Regions from separate parts of the Homo sapiens genome. Here region 2 is linked to region 1. Evidence: promoter capture Hi-C in human tissues and cell types (Jung and others, 2019). All regions are on one chromosome and are shown on one strand. The core of a region is centred on a gene start or on the middle of the fragment in contact, and the rest is flanking DNA. Distances in the headings are between cores, read along the strand shown. Region 1 holds the start of OTX2 (orthodenticle homeobox 2). Region 2 overlaps OTX2-AS1 (OTX2 antisense RNA 1).

Region 1 (5,289 bases), core at 797-3,296:
AACTGGGGGAAACGTTGTCTTTTCTAGGGGTAGGAAGGAGACTCTGCTTCAGGTGATCGAGGTGGATTTGCCTTTCCTTCATCGAAAGCATCATGACTCTGACCAAGCGCACCCAACCAGTGCCTCCGACAGCCAGCGCCACGAGGGTCATAACGCCCGGGGCATTTGTTACCCCCTCCTCACCACCATCCCCATTAAAGGCTTCGGGGGCGGCCGCCAGGTGTTTCAGTACAGTGGGGGTGGGGTGAGAAAAAAGGTCGGTACTCACCCTCCCCCCCGCCCGGGCCCCTAGAAACTCTTGACTCCTGGGAACGCGACAGCCAGCGGGTCTCCGGACTGGAGCTGCTGCAGAGGGCCGGGAAGGAGCTGGGCGGGCTCCGGGCCCCTCGGGGGCTCGAGGGGCCGCCAGGGCCCAAAGCTCTAGGGACACCTGTGACAGGGGCCGCTGCCGCGGAGTCCCCAGCCCCAGGCCGAGCCCGAGCCGGAGCCCGGCTGCCGAGAGCTTGCTGCCTCGTGCGCACTCCCGTAATTCGTTAATTGCTGTAAATCCCAAGGACGGCCACATTTGAGTACACATACAGTATAAGAACCGACAACAAAGCGACGAATTAATTACCAACTTCATTAACATAGGTCCCCAAATTAAAGGCAGCGAGCTGTTTCTTTGGGCCCACTGGCCGTGGTGGTGATGGTAGTTGGTGGTGGGTGGGTGGCGGGGGGTGGGGTATTTAGGAAGAGATTTTATTTTTCTTTTCCTGCACTGGGTGTTGTGAAGCAAGAGCTGTCTTCTGCTCCCACCCCCACCCAGCTTATTCACACACACTCACCAGTTCCACTAGCCACCCCCCACCCCACACTCCGCCCAGTCTGTTTTTGCTTTTCTAGGGACTCGGATCCGTTTGAAACCTGTCCGGTCCCTGCTTTCTATGCCAGGCAAAAAAGTTGGGCTGGGGGTCGCACTCTCCGGCTCGGGCCCCCAGGTCCCATCACTTCCCAGCCTCTGGGCTCGCAGCCCGGGGCTCGGGCGGCGCCAGCCCAGGTAGCTCCAGGCCTCGCAGTGTCGGTCGTTTGGTGGCGTTTGTTCTAACACAGAAACTGTTTCCAACGGGGGCCTCCCTCGTTCGCTCTCTTCCACGATATCTTGTCGACCTCACACTCGCATCCTCGAGGCCCGATGTGGTCCCAGCTACTTCTCCTAAATGGGCCCTGAGATTAGATTCCGGGGTTCGTGTTCCCTGCAGTCTGTCGTGGGCTTCTCAATTCCAAAAAACCCCAGGAACCTACCAGAAGCCGGGGTCTCTCACTCGGGGATCATTTATTTATATGTGTAAGGATATTTATAAGGGCGTAGGGAATAGAGAAGACACTGAGTTTTAGAAAATAGTTTGTTCTTGGACTTGTGTATCTTTCTCTCTCTGTTTTCCCTACATGCCCACATCGCACTCCCAGGCCTCCCTCCTTTACCCTTTCTGGCCGTCAGCGTGCTCTGGCCCTGTCTGAGACGGCATAGTGGTGTTTTTGAGTTTCAGTCTGACTTGCTTTCTGCCTGTCATCCACACACTTATTGCTGGGGTTGAATGTGATAACCCAGTCACTCCCTAACCCGCCATTCTCCAGCATTTACTTAAATATTTTTATCTTCCATCTTACATTGCATGGGTTTCCTTTCTTCCCTTCCCTAAAAACAACAACAACAAAAAAAAAAAAAAAAAAAAGAGAGGAAAGGAAATTTCGGAGTAAAGGAAGCAGGGGAAAAGAGGGTAAGAGAAGAACTCCCTGTCCATCATTTTAATTATACAATTAGTTCACATGCTCCGGCCCATAATGTATATTTTAAGCAAAGCCCAGTGTCTTTAAAGAACATTCTGGTAATGTCGGAGGCCTGGATTTGTTGCCTGCTCGTCCCCCCGTGCAGCAGCGGCCTGTTTTCCTCCCCCTGTTGTGTGTTTTTATTATTTTCCCTCTGGCTTAGATGTGTCAATCATTCTCTCCCTGCCATTGGTTGGAGAGTTTGCGTCAAAAAGTTGCCAGAGAGGCGCTTTCTCAGCAAATCTCCCTGAGAGCGGGACCGGCCTCAGCTCCAACACAGCCTCCACTGTGATTAAAAATAAAAATTGCTAGAGCAGCCCTCACTCGCCACATCTACTTTGTATGTATTGCAGAGGGGCCCACGCGTGTTTAGAACTCTAGCCGCCTTCCTCATTTTCGTTCTTTAAAAAAAATTTTTTTTGGTTGTGTTTGACTTTTCATGGAAGGGTGAAGACTGCAAGGTTTCTAACTCAATACTCTTGATTTCTTTTAGGATAGCTGGCTATTTGGAATTTAAAGGATATTTGACTTTTTCTAACCTCCCATGAGGCTGTAAGGTAAGTGTCCGTCTGTCTTGTCTATATCCATATCTACGTGTCCCCGTGTCTGTCGGCCATCACCCCAGTACCTCCAATAGACCGACCGATGCCCCTCTGCGAACGTGGAGTTCTGTAGGCGGATGTATTTTTTCTCTTACAAATTTTGAGGTGTAATAACGATCGTTGCAAAAAGAAAAATGTGATCTAGAGATGAGAGCGGTAGTGGGAGAGAGGCAGAGAGCGTGCTCCTGGGGGTCGTCGCTTCTGCAAAACGTCGTCGAAACGCTGCGAATGTAATCTGGGGTGTTTTGGAAGGTTTTGTTTGTGGTTTTGTTTTTATGTCAACGCCGTTCTGGGCTTCTCCCGCGATCTTTGCGTTTTGGCCCCCAGATTTGGTTGGGGTCGTTTGGATGGATCCCAGGGACCTTTTTAGAGTCCGAGACAAAAAGATGCAGATGTAACTAGATGGATGGATTGAAACAACAATAATAAAAAGCCAGGCGCCTCCTTGGGCCCGCGCGCCGGAAGCTCGGTTCGCTTGCGGGTCGGCCTGGGCCGGGGGCCGCCGCTCGAGCCCCTGTCGGCCCCTGTTGAACGTGAGCGGAAACCGGAGCGGATAACCGAGGAGGCTGGGAGCGCTGGCTTCTCGTCCGCCCCGGCGCTCACTGCTCGCTCTCTTTGGCCTCCTCTCCCTCAGCCTAGCACAGCTCGGTTGTCTGTTTCTCCCAAAAGCTTCCAGATCTCCTTTTTGTTTTTAAATATCCACCACCCCCCAAAATCCAAACCACCCTGGGTTGTAATTACGCAGCCTCCCAACCCCCGGTTGTCGTGGTCCCCGACCCTGGTCACCAGGCCGAGCGAACGTGAAGAGTGTTTTTTCAACATGACTTTGCCGGGTCGCGGCCCGCCCCACGTAGCCCTCCGCGCGCACCTGGGGCGGGCAGAAGTGGCAGCTAGTGGCCCCTGCTCCGCCCAAGGCCGCGGCCGGGCCAGGGACCGGAATCCTCCCGCTGGGACCGCGGCCCCTCAGCTGTTCTCTGGCGGGGAGAGGCAGGGCTCGCCCGCGCGCTCGCGCACCCCCTTCCCAGGCTCCAGGACAATGAGGTGTCGTGGCTCGGGGCCGGGCGGGGGCCGAGGGGTTCGCCGAGGCCCAGCCTGTGCCATGGATCGGCCCAGTAAGAACCATCCGAAGGTCCCTGCCAGCGCCGGGCGCGGGCGACGGGTCGCTCTGCAAACTCCCAAGAAGTCTTCGCGTTGTTGCGTTCAAGTGACTCTTGAAATCGATGCCCGATTTCGGGACATATTTTTGGAAACCCAAGTCCCCTGTCAGGATTCCACCGAGTTGGCTTTTGCTTCCTTCACAGATAGAACTGGTGCGCGGGGAGCGAAGGCCGAGCGGCGCCGACCCTGCGGTGGTGGATTGCTTGGGGAGGGGACGGGGAAGTCGCTCCTAGAAATTCTCCCCTCCATCCTAGAGCTTCGGGGTCAGGATTTCTCCTGCTCAGCTCGGGACTTTTTACAGGCACCAAAAGTTATTAGCAACAGAGGGGAGTAGGAGAGGGAACTCCTCCCCCCAGAGTAAGGTAGACACCCAGACCTCAGCGCTAACACCGGGGCTTTCTCCCAACGATAATTAATAGTCAAGGCCAACCCTTTTGGCACGTTTCTTCCTCCCTCCCTCGCGGGTGGCAGAGTTATTTGATTCCCCGAGGCCAGAAACTTTCACTCGAGTTCGCCGGAGAGAGGCCAGCGCCGGCCGTTTTCCGCGGTGCCCACACGTCTCCTTTTTCTTTCTTTCCTCCTCTTCGTCGTCTTCCCAGCCGCAGGCCAGTCGCCAGTCCGCGTAGTTTTGTTTCCTTTCCATCATGCAGAAAATTAATCAGCCCGGACGAGAAGCAGAGAGGAGCATGGCGGCCTGTAATTAAGGGACGTGTGCCCCTCGGATTATCTCGTTAGTTTATCAAGAAAACATTTATTATAATTAATTCTCGGACGAGGTAATTATTGTTGAGCGAGGACACAGCAACTGGTAGATGGGCTTCTTGGAAGAAAAAAAAAACAAGGCGTGGGGGAGGGAGAAGCGACAGATTGCACGAATTGACCGTTAGATATAAGGCTGCGCGGGGGGCGCGGGCAGTGGAGCGGGACCTCGGGCGCCAGGCCTGCGGGGCTGCGGGGCTGCGGGGCTGCGGGGCTGCGGGGCTGCCGGGCAGGAACGCGGGACCCAGGCACTCGCGCCCGGAGGTGCGGTCGCCGACCGGCTGCCGGAACTCGCCGCGCGACCGCGGTCAGCTTCTAGGTATGAGTTCTCCAGAGGCCACCTCGTGAGCAGTCATAGTGAGGCGTGGATTTTTCAAAAGTTATTTCTTTTCCCCGTTCTGGACCCTGCTTCGAGAGGAAAAGAGCTTTGAAAGTTAGATTGAAGGGCCCATGCCTTCTATGCAGAGTGCATACCTAGGCCGGTTGTGGAGAGAATCTCTTAGTTTTGGGTTTTGGTTTTCCTCTTTTCCTTTTAAAGGTGGATCCAGGAGCAAAAGTGAAAATAGTCTATTTTGAGAATTTTAGCCATTTTGCAATGGTAAGGGCAAAGGAGCCCCTGGAAGGATCTCGGCCCTGGTGCTTTCTGTGTGTTACTGGCTTTTTATGTTGGAATGTGCTACTTTATTGTATGATGTGTCAGGCATTTCTAATTGGGTGAGAGCTCTACATGTAAGAACATTTCCATATTTCTCAAGGGTACATCTGATATGATTTTACGATTCTCTATAGCACTGTAGTTCAGAATTTTGCAAGGTAGTACGATTAAACAAAAAATCTCCAATCTCCAGTTTAGAGGCTGTTTAAACACATATACAACTGTATTTTAAAGCTGTCGCATATGTGTTTAAACAGCCTCTAAGCTGGAGATTTTTGTTTATTTTCGCAGCCTCCAAAGAACAGC
Region 2 (5,141 bases), core at 1,392-3,891, 51 kb before region 1:
GTCAACAGTGCCATAAAATCATAATCTGGGCCAGGTTTTGTGCCTCACGCCTGTAACCCCAGCACTTTAGGAGGCCGAGGCAGGAGGATCACTTGAGCCCAGGAGTTTGAGACCAGCCTGGGCAATATGGTGAAACTCCATCTCTACCCAAAAAGAAAAACAAAAACAAAAATCAAACTAAACTGAAAAAAAACCCACAAAACTTAGCCCAGTGTTGTGGCACACACCTATGGTCCCAGCTACTCGGGAGGCTGAGGTGGGAGGACTGCTAAAGGTTGGGAGGCAGAGGTTAGCAGCGAGCCAAGATTGCACCCTTGCACTTTAGCGTGGGAGACAGAATAAGACCTTGTCTCAAAATAAATAAATAAATAAAAATCATAATCTGATCTATCTATGCATACCACAATATGAATACTCTATCTATAGATACCACAATATGAATACTCTGGTGCCTATTGCTCAGGCATAACATTGCCAGATATGGCAAATAAAAATGTAAGATGGCACAAATAATTTTTTTAGTATGAGCATATCCCAAGCATTGCATGAGACATATTTATACTAAAAAATTATTTGTTGTTTATCTGAAATTCAAATTTAACTGAACATCCAGTATTTTATCCAGCAACCCTACCCAGGCACCCTGCTTTAAGGTCTCCAAAACATTTGGCAGAGGACACACCCAAAATGGAAGAGTTGCAAATTTTCTTAAAAGAAACTCTGTCATACTCATTTGGATAGGAGACAAAGAAAACAAATGCAACTTTAAATCTGCTTCACAGTGGTAGAGGTGTTTCTCTCAGTGCACGAACTCCATGATCAGATTATTGTGAGCTCTCTTTGGGCAACATAAAGAAGCTTGAATGCCATATGGTTATTTTCTGAGTCACCAAAACTCTCTGTTCTCCCGCGGTGGCAGCCAGCATCTTCTGTGATGCTTACACTAAATGGCAGAAATAGAACAGATTCAAGGGAATGTAGACTAGTGGATGCAAATGCATTCATGGAGAGAAGTTACATTCCAAAAAGATTTCAAGCCCTCCCGTCCTATTTCCCCTCTCACCATCGCCCACATCTGCCCCAAAGCATTCAAGCTTAGGGTGTTCTCATAGGAAGCTGTACTCTGAGGAATACACAAACGTGCCAAAACGTTGGGACAGAAAAAAAAAAAACTACAATATTCTCCGAATTAAAATCAGTTCATGGAAAATAAAAGAGGAGCCTACTGCTAGTTGTGAGTTCAGTGATGAAGTATGTGAAGGCTGTGAATGTCATCTATTGTGGGACATGTAATAAGACAACTTGGGGGAAATCTCTTTAGTATCAGAGGGTCACAACTACCAATAAGAAGAATGTTCATGCTTAGTTACTGGATGCATAAGGTCACTGGCAGGAATACCTGTCAAAACTGGCTGCTCTAAAGCCCTTTTTCCTTTCTCGTTTGTCTCCTATCCCACGTCCACACCTTTAAACCCCATCCAAAAATAAAGTGGGTTGCTCTCCTTGCTGTATCCCTAGATCCTGGCCCTGTGCCTGGCACACAGTGGGCACTGAAAGCTATTTATTAATGAATGTAGAGAGAAAACTTCAGTCACCCATTAAATTTTTTTTTTTCGAGACAGGGTGGTGCTCTGTTGCCTAGGCTGAAGTGCACTGGCACAATCAGCTTGCTGCAGTCTCAAAATCCTGGGCTCAAGTGATGCTTCCACCTCAGCCTCCCAGTAGCTGGGACTACAGGTGCACACAAGTATGCTAGCTAATTTTTTCTTTTTAAGAGATGAGGTCTTGCTATGTTGCCTAGGCTGGTCTCGAACTCCTGAGCTCAGGTAATCCTCCCACTTCGGCCTTCCAGAGTGCTGGGATTATAGGCATGAGCCACCGCATCTGGCCCAGTCACCTATTTAACAAATATTTTTAACTGTTTTTTTTTTTAATTTTAAAAACTGGTAATTTAACGGTACAGACCAACAGCTGGAGAATATAGCTATGCCTCTTTTAAAAAAATTTATACTTTTTCTTATATTAACTGCACTATAGAACTTAATTTTTAAGTTAAATAAATTAAAAAGCAATAAAATATAGTATGAAGTAGCTTATGTATGTTTTAGCTTTTAAGCATTTGCCCCATGTTATGTAATCTGAAAGACTCAAATCCAAAGAGCAAAATGGGAAAACCAATGCTTTTAAAAGAAAATCTATTTTTGCTCTGTGTGTTTTAACAAATGAGTAATTAGATATTTAGCCTATCATTGCTGCATGAATAAATCTTAGGGCCTACCTGACATTACAGGTTTAGAATTCTAAGGCTTACTTTGTAACATGGAATCTTTGCATTGTTGTGAGACTATTAAAATAGATTTAAGGTGATTATTCTGGAAATAGCATAAAAATAAGCTACATTTACTCAAATGAACTAGTTCTCTGACTTTTTCCATTAGGAAACCCTCTTGAATAGGGATTCTTGACCTGCTGTGGTATGTTTGGGTTAGCTGTATGTCTGCTCTTAAAAATATACCTTTCCAGACAGATACTTGAGGAGACTGAGAGGGAGAATGGCTTACGTCCTCCCAGTGAGTTTGACTCCAGGAGTTTGACACTAATCTAGGCAAATAGTGAGACCCCGTCTCTAAAAACATACATAAATATGTATGTGTGTGTGTATATATATATATGTATATATGTATGTGTGTATGTATATGAAGATATATATATATACCTTCAAGACTGAAAGAAGCTATGATTTTGAGCTGGAATTTGCTTTTAATCTTTTTCTCTCCAACAGTGTAGCAAATTAAATATAAATCATCCAACAATCGCTCCTTTTCTAAAACTGTTTTGATGCTTTATTCCTAACAAATAAAGCATATAGAATGAGAACCATAACATTTGATTAAAAATACACACACACACACACACGTATATACATACACACATGTATATATAGAGAGAGACTCCTGGCTTTATTATGCAACAATGCATTAAGCCAGCTTCCTTTGAGGGTCACATGTTCATCTGTGCCCATCCTTAGCAAACACTCACTTTAATGCCAACACATCCAACTAAAAACTGAAATCCATGAGACATGTATTATGCATTATGTCTGACCATTGCAAAGCATCTGATAATTAACCAAAAGTTTTCACCTTTCTTTGCAATAGTTATTATGCAGACATAACCATGGACCACAATAGAAAGAAGCACACACCACTCATATTCTGCCCTGACGAGAGTTACAGCCAAATTTAAATCCCAGCCTGGTGAGTGGATTCCATGGTAAACTGTTATGCAGAAAAGCTTCTGTCACCTACCACTGCCGCCTCCCGTTCATTTTCTGGCAAAACGTTAAGACTGAAGACACCAACATCAATTAGAATGTAAACCCATCTCTGCTTAATAACAAATCCTCTCCATCCCTGTCTAGCCAGAAACAATCTGCCTGCTTATTTCTATTTTCATGTCCTCTCCTCCCAAATTAGCTTTGGTTACATTCCCATGACTGGATAGTATTGATCTTGAGTTAAGAAGCCTAGATCATGTAGAACCTGGCATATCAGAGGTGCTAATGAATGAGTGGCTCACCTACATTTTGAAATCTATCATAAACATTCTGCTCTTAACATTTTTAGAGGGTAAAGAGCTTTATAATGTTGCACAAATAGCTCCTGGGAATTCAATATTCTACCGATAGCATTGCTTCTGTAGTCTCTGGCCTTTGGGATAAGAATCGGGTTCAGGAGCAATATTGCAGGTTTTTCCTAAAAGAATCTTATCTAAAAGTCTCTCTCTTCAATGGCTTCTGTGACTTTGTATTGTTCTTAGAATTTAGTCCCAACTAGTATTTTTCTTTCTGTGTCTGGCCTATTTCCTTAGCATAATGTCTTCTAGTTTAAAAAAAAAAACAAATACATAAAAACAGTGAAAACAGGATTTGTGGGGAGCACAGGAGGAAATAAGAAGATGTAGATCAAAAGGTACAAAGTTGCAGTAATGTAGCATTAATAAGTCTAGAGATCTGTTTGCACAACGTGAAGACTCTAGTTCGTAATTGCACAACATGAGGACTCTAGTTTGTAATATCATATTGTATCCTGGTAATTTGCCAAAAGAGTAAATTTTAGGTACTCTTACCACACGCGCACACACACACACACACACACACACACACACAGACACACACACACACAGGTAAGTATATAAGACAATAGGTATGTTAATTTGCTTGACTGTAGTAACCACTTCACTCACTACATATATGTATATCAAGCTAAGTATCAAAAAATCATATTGTGCACCTTAAATATATACAAAAAAGATATTTCTGAGCCCCAGATGTTATTGAGGAATTTCAAATGATATTTCATACAAAACAATTTAATTCCTAATCAACAAAAACAGTATGAAATAGTCCTTTTAGGTTCACTGAAAAAAACTAAACAGAACAAAAATACACACTAGCCCTAATGTCAGACTAGGCCTGGGTTGGAATTCTGGCCCCCTACTTCCTAGCTATGTGACCTTCACTAGCTACTCATCCTCTCAAAGCCTCGGCTTCTCCACCTTTAAAATGGGGATAATAATAATAATCTTACTGTGGCTGGGCACAGTGGCTCACACCTATAATCCCAACACTTTGGGAGGCTGAGGCGGGTAGATCACTTGAGGTCAGGAGTTCAAGACCAGCCTGGCCAACATGGCGAAACCCTATCTCTACCAAAAAAAAAAAAAAAAAAATTCAGCCAGACATGGTGGTGCATGCCTGTAATCTCAGCTACTCAGGAGGCTGAGGCACAAGGATCGCTTGAGCCCGGGAGGTGGAGGTTGCAGTGAGCTGAGATCGTACCACTGCACTCCAACTCCAACCTGGGCAACAGAGCAAGACTGTCTCAAAAATAATAATAATTATTATTACTATTATTATTTATTGTGCAGATTGAATGTGATAATGCATCTGCAATAGCTGGCACTTAGTACACAAAGGAATAAACATTAGCTACGCCTGCTGCTCTCATGATTACTAACTCTGACTATACTGAATAACAAATTGGAACAATGGTGTCTTTTGCGGGGAAGAAAAAAGAATATAACCTCAACCCCTTACCATGATCTTCAAGGCCAGTAAAACTCTGTAGCCTCACCTCATA

Evidence for each region. The method cuts DNA at HindIII sites, captures the fragments that hold promoters and counts their contacts. A contact is called where the count stands out against the background at its distance.
Region 2: a contact is called between a fragment that was not itself captured here and the fragment with the promoter of OTX2 in region 1, in 1 of the 25 tissues and cell types used here (H1 embryonic stem cells).

Annotation. Positions count from the first base shown.
Region 1 is chr14:56,807,236-56,812,524 of GRCh38, reverse strand. OTX2 (orthodenticle homeobox 2) reads left to right here and starts at 2,046. Exons shown (of 5, transcript NM_021728.4): 1 at 2,046-2,149; 2 at 2,303-2,366. It also overlaps a transcript of OTX2-AS1 not described here. RefSeq lists an enhancer at 1-666. The HindIII fragment of the contact is 7,680 bases long and covers 1-5,289 here.
Region 2 is chr14:56,858,803-56,863,943 of GRCh38, reverse strand. The region is part of intron 1 of OTX2-AS1 (OTX2 antisense RNA 1); the gene reads right to left. Among named protein-coding and RNA genes, the nearest start is that of OTX2-AS1, 48 kb to the right of the region's middle. The HindIII fragment of the contact is 3,330 bases long and covers 977-4,306 here.